Linked DNA regions of Homo sapiens: region 2 is linked to region 1. Evidence: promoter capture Hi-C in human tissues and cell types (Jung and others, 2019). All regions are on one chromosome and are shown on one strand. Each heading gives the region's core, a stretch centred on a gene start or on the middle of the fragment in contact. The rest is flanking DNA. Distances are from core to core; before and after follow the strand shown. Region 1 holds the start of LEPROTL1 (leptin receptor overlapping transcript like 1). Region 2 holds the start of LOC105379349 (a long non-coding RNA gene).

Region 1 (4,574 bases), core at 1,715-4,214:
AAGGGCTATTTTAGTAATGTTTTCACAGACTCCAATAAATGCTGTTTACTGGGGCATAGGAGTTGCATCCTCTCCCTGGTCTGGGAAATGTAAATATTTATAAGTAGAAAAATTTGTTTACACATTTTTTGGGGGCCAGGCGCAGTGGCTCACACCTGTAATTTCAGCACTCTGGGAGGCCCAGGTGGGCCGATCACTTGAAGCCAGGAGTTCAAGACCAGCCTGGCCAACATGGTGAAACCCTGTCTCTACCTAAAAATACAAAAATTAGCCAGGCATTGTGGCTCATGACTGTAATCCCAGCTACTTGGGAGGCTGAGGCAGGAAAATCACTTTAACCAAGAGGCAGAGGTTGCAGTGGGCTGAGATCACACCACTGCACTCCAGCCTGGGCGATAGAGCAAGACTGAAAGTTAGCTGGGCGTAGTGGCGCGTGCCTGTAGTCTCAGCTACTTGGGAGGCTGAGGCAAGAGAATCGCTTGAACCCAGGAAGCGGAAGTTGCAGTCAGCCGAGATCATACCACTGCACTCCAGCCTGGCCACAGAGCGAGACTCCGTTTCAAAAGAAAAACAAAACAAAACAAAAAGTGGAACTTTATGTTATCTTTACAAAGGGAACTTAAGCACGGCCTTTGGGTAGAAAAGGAGAGAGCAGAGAGCTCCTCCTATGCCTGTTGCTTCTTATTTGCTTTCAGCTCAAAACAATCCTTAGCCTTATTTTCACTCGTGTCCGTGTGAAGAGACCATCAAACAGGCTTTGTGTGAGCAACAAGGCTGGTTATTTCCCCTGGGTGCAGGTGGGCTGAGTCCGAAAAGAGAGTCAGCGAAGGGAGATAGGGGTGGGGCCATTTTATAGGATTTGGGTAGGTAAAGTAAAATTACAGTCAAAGGGGGTTGTTCTCTGGCAGGCAGGGGCTGGGGTCACCAGGTGCTCAGTGAGGAAGCTTTTGAGCCAGCATGAGCCAGGAGAAGGAATTTCACAAGGTAATGTCATCAGTTAAGGCAGGAACCGGCCATCTGGATGTGTACGTGCAGGTCACAGGGGATATGATGGCTTAGCTTGGGCTCAGAGGCCTGACATTTATTTGTTTGTTTGGAGACAGAGTCTTGCTTTGTTGCCCAGGCAGTGGCACAATCAGAGCTCACTGCAGCCTCGACCTCCTAGGCTCAAGCAATCCTCCTACTTCAGCCTCCCAAGTAGCTGGAACTACAGGCACACACCAAGCCTGGCTAATTTTTTTTTCGTTTTTGTAGAGATGGAGTCTCACTATGTTGCCAGGGCTGGTCTTCAACTCCTGGGCCAAAGCGATCCTCCTGTCTTAGCCTCCCAATGTGCTGGGATCACATGCCTGAGTCACCACACCAGACTTCAAAGTGGCATATTTTAGAGTGACATATTCTGATCCCCTTTACTAGCAATTATCATTATTGCAATTTTACATTTTTTGTGTGTCTGTCTTCCTCACCAGTCTGCAAACAGTACCTGGTTTTGCACATCTCAGCGTCTAACCCTGTGCCTAACACATAGTAAATGTTCTATAAATAATTGTAGGATGTGTAAATAAAGGTGTTGAACCTGGGCTTTCACTTTTTTTTCCTTGCCTTGTTACTACCAAAAAGACAGCCACCCAAGGGACTGGATTTCTATTAAATCCACCCTTTACTGAGCCCTGCTGCTCCTATCTCTGGAGGTGGGTCCTCACCAGAACCCTAGTCCTGTATAGGAAACCAAGGAGCCAAGTGCAGACCACCCAACTAACCTTAATTATAGGACTGGGGATGGAGGGATGGAGGGAGAGAGGAAAAGGCGCAGTAAAATAATGTGCGCAGTGGCTCACACCTGTTGTCGTAACCGAGCGAGTTATAGAGAAACACCACACTTTGAGACTAATTCAGGAGTCCTTTATTGCCGGCGACCGAGAGACGACTACAGCTCAAAATTCTCTCGGCCCTGAAGAAGGGGCTAGATTTCTTTTTATACCTTGGTCTAAATAGGGAAGGGGTAGTCTAGCTGAAGCAATTTTTACAGAAGCAGAACAGGCAAAGAGTTAAAAGATAAATGGTTATAGAAACAGTTACAGGAAAATAAACAGTTCCAGGTGCATGGGGCTTAAATTATCACAAAGAGATAAACGCAGGGGCTTTGGGTACCATCAACCGAGCGCGTTCCCAGGAGCTGCTGGTACAGCTTGCCTCAGTATCTTATCAGTAAGCACATTCCTGGATGTGCTTGGTGTCAGTCTGCACCAGTTATGTCCTTAAGGGAGGGGGACAAGGTGCTGCAAGCGAAGAAACCAAAATGGAGTCTGTCCCGCTCTCTCAGCTAAGAGCGAGTCAATCAGGTTAAAACAAGGTAGGGTATCAAGCTGTAATCCCAGCGCTTTGGGAGGCCGAGGAGGGCAGATCCTTGAGCTCAGGAGACCAGCTTGGGCAACAAGATGAGAGTCTCACACCCCGCCCTGTCTCTACAAAAAACAAAACAAAACAAAACAAAAAAAAGCCAGGCATGGTGGCTCATGTCTGTGGTCCCAGTTACTGCGAGGCCGACGTGAGAGAATCACTTGAGCCCTGGAGATCGAGGCTGCAGTAGCCGTGATCACACTCCAGCCTGGGCGAAAGAGACCCTGTCTCAAAAAACAAACAAAACAATGTGAAATTAAGCCAAAAGCCATCACACGTGCATCCAAAGGACGGCCGCTACCCGCGACCCCTTCCCAACGCACGCGGGAGGTTGCGGGATCAGGGACAGGGGCTTCAGCAGGGAGCCCCCAGACCGGCCCTGACAGGAATTCAAGACCTGGCGCCTGCTCATTCCCCCAGTCGGGGCGGCGGCGGCAAGCCTCGGCCGGCGGCGATCTGCACACCCGCGGAGAAGAGAGGCAGGGGGTCGACCCCACAGCCCAGCCCGGCGCGTCCCCCGCGCCCCCGCGCGAGCCCGAGTCGCCGGCGGAAGTGCTGCGTCGCGCACTTCCGGGTGTTGTCTGGCCGCCGTAGCGCGTCTTGGGTCTCCCGGCTGCCGCTGCTGCCGCCGCCGCCTCGGGTCGTGGAGCCAGGAGCGACGTCACCGCCATGGCAGGCATCAAAGGTGGGCCTGGGTTGCAGGACGCGGGAGGGCTGGGGCCGGCGGGGGAAGATGGGCCGGGGGTCCCACGCGGCCCCCGCACTTCCCCTCCGGGCTCGCGCGCGCGCGTGGGGTCCCTGCGCCGGGGAAGCGACCCCCGCCCCGGCCCTGCGCTTGGCCCGGAGGTGGGCGCGGCGCCCTCGGGCAACGGACGGTTGCGACCCCGGCTTCGCCCCGCAGCCCCCACTTTCTGCCGATTTCGGCAGCCTCTCTCCCACCCATCGCCCCCCGGACAAAATATGAAGTGGTTGGCGGTCAGTGAGGAGTCCCGTCGCGACTTGGACGGCCACACACGTTTTGCAGGAGTTTGCATCCGAGAGAGAGGCAGGCAGAGCGTGGGATTGAGAAGGCTGAGGCTGCTAGAGATGCCAGCTATGGAAAACCAGTCATTTCCCACCGAAAGGCACAAGTGCGGTCTGCGGGCGCTGCACGGGTCTGCCCGAAACCTCGACCCCACGTCCACCCCGGCCGCCCGCGCCCGAGGCTTTACAGGCTCCCGAAACGGGTGCATTTTCATCTGCGGTGTCTGGACCCTAGAGTTGATCCTGTAGGCGACCCCAAAGTGCTCCTGGCTCTCTTCCCTCTCCGCAGTTGCACCCTGAGGCTTTTTCAAATTTCAAAATTTTTCTTTTTTTCCTTTTTTTTTTTTAAGAAGATAAAATACTGGTACAACTTAATGAAAAACTACTGGCTTATTCATGTATTTTCTTTTAAAAAAAGGAATGTTGCATTTGTTCCACCTGTTAGGTAGTTTTGTTGTCAGTGTGATGAGAAGCAAAGTTTTCAGCTACTGCTTAACTAATTACATTGATTTCTTGACCTGCCGCTCTGTAGAAGGGCAGTCAGGCAGGAAGCAGGTAACTTTGGGAGCAGTGGTTTTCTTTGTATTTTTTCTTCTCTAAGGAAAACTTAATCGAGTTTTTTTTCAGGGTCACAGTCTTACTGTTTCTTGTTTATTTTCAATGTCTGAAAACATTTCATTTCCCATATAAAACCTTGTCATTTAAGCAACTGGGATACTTTGTAATCTCCTTTTGAACTATGATAGACTCTAAACCCTTATGTGAAAGGCAGTTATTGTGAATTGCTGTGGTTTTTAGGATGTTGCCCGTTTCCCTGTTCTTCCCTGTTTCTTCAGTGTCAATAATGCGGGGGTCTCTTAAGAAAATAGCTTTGTAATTTACTTCTCCAGACCTAGGGAAATACTGCATTAAACTGATGAAGGTGCCTCAGGTGAACTGCACTTTTGATTTCAGCAGGATTTTCTGGTTGTTATGAGTCAGTATGTTTCTTTCTCTTGGCCTAATATCTTTATATTAGGAAGGAGTGTTGCTGTAATTAGAGACCATTAGGCATTGCTTGAGCCATTTGTCTATTACTTTTTGATATATTGGATTTTCTGGTAACTCCCAGGTTAGAGAAGTGGTCCCTCCTTCTACTCTAATTTCTTTGT
Region 2 (4,901 bases), core at 551-3,050, 720 kb before region 1:
GTGATAACCAAGACAGTGAGTGCAGATGGAAGAGAGAAAAGAGCTGGGTATAGTGGCGCACACCTGTAGTCCCAGTTACTCAGGAGGCTGAGGTGGGAAGATCACTTGAGTCCCGGAGGTCCAGGCTACAGTGAACTATGATGGTGCTGCAGCACTCCAGCCAGGGCAATGCAGTGAGACCCTTGTCTCTAAAAAAAATAGATAGGGAAAAGACCCCAGGATCAAGCTCTGAAACTCTCTAACATTAGGAGTTTAGGGAGATGAGGGAGAGTTAGAAAGAAGTCTGAGAAGCCACTGATGAGAGCAGATGGGAAAGAACGCCAGAGGAGCAAGTGACCAGGCAGAGGAGGGATCAACTGTGGAAGAGGAGGACCGACGTCTGACCACTGGGTTAAAAAATGTGGAGGTCACCAGTGCCCTTGGAGAGAAGTAGTGCAGATAAACAGTTGGGGTGGACTCAAGAAAGATGGGAGAAGCAGAGTTGGAGACAGTGATTATAAACCACTCTTCTGTTCAGTATTGCTGAAAATGGCAAGAGAAAAATGGGAGGTAAGTCCTTGAGTTTCCAGTGCTATTTGCATGAAGTCATTCCTGTATTTCTTGATCGTTTCCTACAGGCTAGGGATGGGTGCCAGATGAACAAGGCCTAGCCACTCCCCAGCAGAGGAAATTCTTCTGCAAACAATGATAATTCCGAGTGGCAGGTATTCTAATACAGGATTGTACTAAGTTCTGTGGGAGCATGAAGAGGCAGAGACAAACTTTGTGGAAGCCCAGGGAAGTGGCATTTGAGTTGGTTGTAAAGGAAGGGTGGTGGCTGCCAGGTAGAGTAAGGGAAGAAAGTTGTTCTCAGTGGAAGAAAGAGAGTGTGTCCAGGCACAAAATGGGGGATGTCTGGAATTCATGCAGTGGAGGGAGGTGGGGGCTGAGGCTGTTAAGGTTGTAGACTTGTGTGGAAATTGAACTTTTATCCCAGAGACCACAGGAAATGCTGGGAGTCTTTTTAAAAATAATTAATTAATTATTTAAGTAGTCAAATAAAAATTGTATATATTTATGGTGTACAACACAATGTTTTGAAATGTGTATGCCAGCCTGACGTGGTGGCTTACTTACGCCTCTAATCCCAGCGCTATGAGAGACCGAGGCAGGAGGATCGCTTGAGCCCAGGAGTTTGACACCAGCCTGGGGCAAGATGGCAAAACTCCATCTCTACAAAAAAATACAAAAAAATTAACCAGGCATGGTGGTGTGCACCTGTAGTCCCAGCTACTGGGGAGGCTGGGGTGGGAGGATCACTTGAGCCCGGGAGTTCGAGGCTGCAGTGAGCCAGGATGGCGCCACTGCATTCCAGCCTGGGCAACAGAGTGAGACCCTGTCTAAAACAAAACAAAATAAAACACCGAAAAAAGTATGTATGCCTTGTGTGTTAAATTAAGATAATTAACATATACATTACCTCACATACTTATTACTTTTTGTAGTGAGAACACTCATCTACATTTTTAGTGATTGTCAAGACCACAATACACGTTGTTTTAACTATCGTGCCGTGTTGTACCATAGGTCTCTTGAACTTGTTCCTCTTGTGTAACTGACATTTTGTGTGCTTTGACCAACATCTTCCCACTCCGTTCCCCCAGCCCTCAGTCCCTGGTCACCACCATTCTGCTCTCTGCTTCTAAGAGTTCAACTTTTTTAGATTCCACCTGTGCGTGAGATGAAAGAGTGTCGGGATCTAAACTGTATTTGGGGAAGATACTTCTGGGGTCTTAGGGTTAGAGACTAGAGGCAGAGAGACCAGTAGGGGGTTTCTGCCATGGTTTCGGCAAGAAACGGGGGGCCAAGATGAGGGCAGTGGCTGAGAGGAAGTTCAGGAGGGGAAGGATGTGGTGGGAGCCACAGGGCTCAGTGACTGCTGGAGATGGGGACTAGCGGAGGGCAGGCCTGGGTAACTCACAGGTTTCTGGCTGGAACTGAGCAGATATATTGATGAGTCTTTTCATCCTCATAGTACTTACCACGTAATAGGTTCCTGAAAAATAGGCCTTGCTTGTTTGCACTTAAATATGAAAATATGAAAAACCTACATATATATATATATATATATATTTTTTTTTTTTTTTTTGAAAAGAGAAAAGGTCTTAGTCTTTCGCCCAGACTGGAGTGCAGTGGCGATTATAGCTCAAAAAACCTATAAGTGGGCCGGGTGTGGTGGCTCACACCTGGAGTTCCAACACTTTGGAAGGTCGAAATGGGAGGTTTGCTTGAGCTCAGGAGTTTGAGACCAGCCTAGGCAACATGGTGAGACCCGTCTCTACAAAAAATTAAAAAATTAGCCAGGTGTGGGGGTGCATGCCTGTAGTCTCAGCTGCTCAGGAGGCTGAGGTGGGAGGATCTCTGGAGCCTAGGAGTTTGAGGCTTCAGTGAGCTATGATCACACCACTGCACTCTAGTCTGGGCAGCCGAGGGAGAACTTGTCTCTAAATAAACAGAAAAAAGAAAAAGTAAAATAAAAAAAAATTTATATAAGTGAATTCTGAAATCAGTTTGCAAGAAATCAAGAGCCCAGCACACAGAATGCCCAAGTTTACAGAGACTCGCAGGGGGTCTGTGTACCTGGCAAGCTCAAGAGGACTTCCATGGAGCTGGACACTCACCATCTCCCTGAGGAGCAAAGATAACCACGAGGAATAACCAGAGCAGTACTGTGTGACAGCGTTGACAATCTGTGATGTCCTGTGTGCTGCAGATGGAAGTACACTGGGAGTCTGGAGAAGAGAAAGACCAGATGAGACTTCCAGGTAGGCCCTGAAGGGCAGGTAGGATGAGGACAGGTGTGAATGTTTCTTATGCCTTTGCTATCTGCCAGCAGCTGTTCTAAGTGATACCCGAACCCAGTTGATCCTCACCACAGATCTATGACGGGGACCATGCGATTGCTCCCAATTTACAGATGAGGACAGTGAGGAACGCACAGCTTAGGTCACTCCCTGAGGTTCTCTGGTAGGAGCTTGCAGGTGGTAAGCTCAGGTGGGCTCGCCCCAGAGACTCTTGAAACCTCCACAGTGCTCACTGATGTGCACAGGTGGAAGGGCCGTGGATAGCCCTTCAGAGACGCAGCAAGCCTCTGTGACCGGCCCAGGGGTGAGCAGGAGGTGAGCTCTGATAGGCTGTTGGGGAGATGGCCTTCACAGGCAGTTCTTTGTACCCAGAGACAGTTGGTTACCCAGGGGAAATCCTTCCTGACCATGGAAATCCCGGGGAGGAGGAGAAGGGAAGGAAGTGGAGAGGCTGCAGGGAGGTGCGGGCCCCCAGCGCCAGGGGTGCAGAGTGGGCAGGCCGGGTGCTAACTGCCCAGGGGTGTGGCAAGCAGGGCCCTTGCTAAGGGTGCTTCCCAGACAGCCGCTGCAGGCTGTGGCCTTGATCAGGGAGAGTGGGAGATGAGTGCCCTTGTAGCCCGTAAGGGGCCGGGGCTCAGCGAATGGAGCTGCTCTCGGCAGGAGGCTTCCCTTCTCCTCCTCATCACATCCGCTGGAGTGAAAGGAAGAAAAGGATCTCAGGAAGAAGGCCGAGTGGGAGCAGGCCCTGTGCAGCCGCAGGCCCCCCAGTCCCCCTTCTGTCTCTTACATAACAGAAGAGACTGCTCTCTCCCGGCTCTCCAGGCGAGGAAGCCGAGTGTGTCTGCTGCGTGTGTGTTTCTGCTGCCAGCCACTGCCCAGAGGGGCCACCGGGCGCGTCACAGCCTCTTCAGCCTAGTACTGAGGGCGGAGGAACTCCTGACTCATCCTCAGCCCTGAGTACTGCAGAGCCGCTGGCCAGCTGCCTGCCTGGGTCACACGGCTGCCTCTGATGGCCGGAACCTAGCAGAAGGGGGGCTTTCGGAGCCCCTTTCCACAGGCAGTCCCGGCCGGTGGGGAAGAGGATCCCACCGTGGTTTTGCAAAGAAGATAACGCCATGTTATTATGCATTCATGCTACAAAGACATAGTGACTCCCAGAAGGGCTGGGTGCTGCTCTGGGCAGTGGAGCCACAGCAGCGAAAAAAATGAATGAGAAACCCTGCACTTGAGGATCACATGTTTCTAGTGAATGAATGAGTGATGCTAACCAGATTCGTGAAAATTCTATGCAGCCTGAAGCTGAGGTTGTCCCATGGGGCATCCCCATCCTGTGCCCTGCCTCCACTCCAGACCCTGTGCTGCCTGGGCTACCTTATCTTGCCTCCTGGTCCTGGCCACCCCTGGAGTCAGTACAAATTATATGGAAGGCCAAGATTAGATCCAGAGCTGTGGGCCTCTTCTACCTGCCTGGCTCACATCACAGCCTCCAAAAGGAACAGACTTCCCTAAAGCCTGGTTTTTGGCAGAGCTTGCAAAGGAAGACCTGGACGTGCTCAGCCAGACAGAGACAGAGGTGACTCAGGAAGAGTCAGCGTGGGGTTTGCTTAGAAAAATCTCCCACGCAATTTGAGCTTAGGTTGGGCCAAAACGGACATCCTGGGAAGCTCACATTGTGGACAATAATTTGTCTGGTGGATTTGGAGAGTTCATTCAGAACTCCACACTATCCAGGTCTTTGGTGGGCTATTTGGGATACAAACAGGAGAGAGGGCCCTGGGGGAGCCTTGAGGTTAGTTGGGCCATTCGGGCTCAGTGCGCCATGTTGCTCTGTGGTATCGCAGTGCCTTGCAAATGCCCTGTAGCAGATGAGGACACAAATTAGACACTGAGGGCACTGGAAGTATTTTGGGCATTTCACCTGCCCAGCACTTCTTCTGGCCACTGCACCATCATTTTCCCTTGGAGAAATCTCTGGTCTTGGTGGAATTGCCAATCAAAATGCCTGCCTACAATGGATACCCCCATGCCCCCAGGCCAGCCTATCAGACTCTCTTTCTC

The links. The method cuts DNA at HindIII sites, captures the fragments that hold promoters and counts their contacts. A contact is called where the count stands out against the background at its distance.
Region 2: a fragment that was not itself captured here is called in contact with the fragment with the promoter of LEPROTL1 in region 1 in 1 of the 25 tissues and cell types used here (spleen).

Annotation. Positions count from the first base shown.
Region 1 is chr8:30,092,444-30,097,017 of GRCh38, forward strand. LEPROTL1 (leptin receptor overlapping transcript like 1) reads left to right here and starts at 2,965. Exons shown (of 4, transcript NM_015344.3): 1 at 2,965-3,085. The coding sequence starts at 3,070. RefSeq lists an enhancer at 528-697 and a silencer at 2,813-3,272. The HindIII fragment of the contact is 5,830 bases long and covers 1-4,574 here.
Region 2 is chr8:29,369,624-29,374,524 of GRCh38, forward strand. LOC105379349 (a long non-coding RNA gene) reads right to left here and starts at 3,769. Exons shown (of 3, transcript XR_949623.3): 1 at 3,631-3,769; 2 at 2,661-2,771. RefSeq lists an enhancer at 4,158-4,247. The HindIII fragment of the contact is 8,265 bases long and covers 1-4,901 here.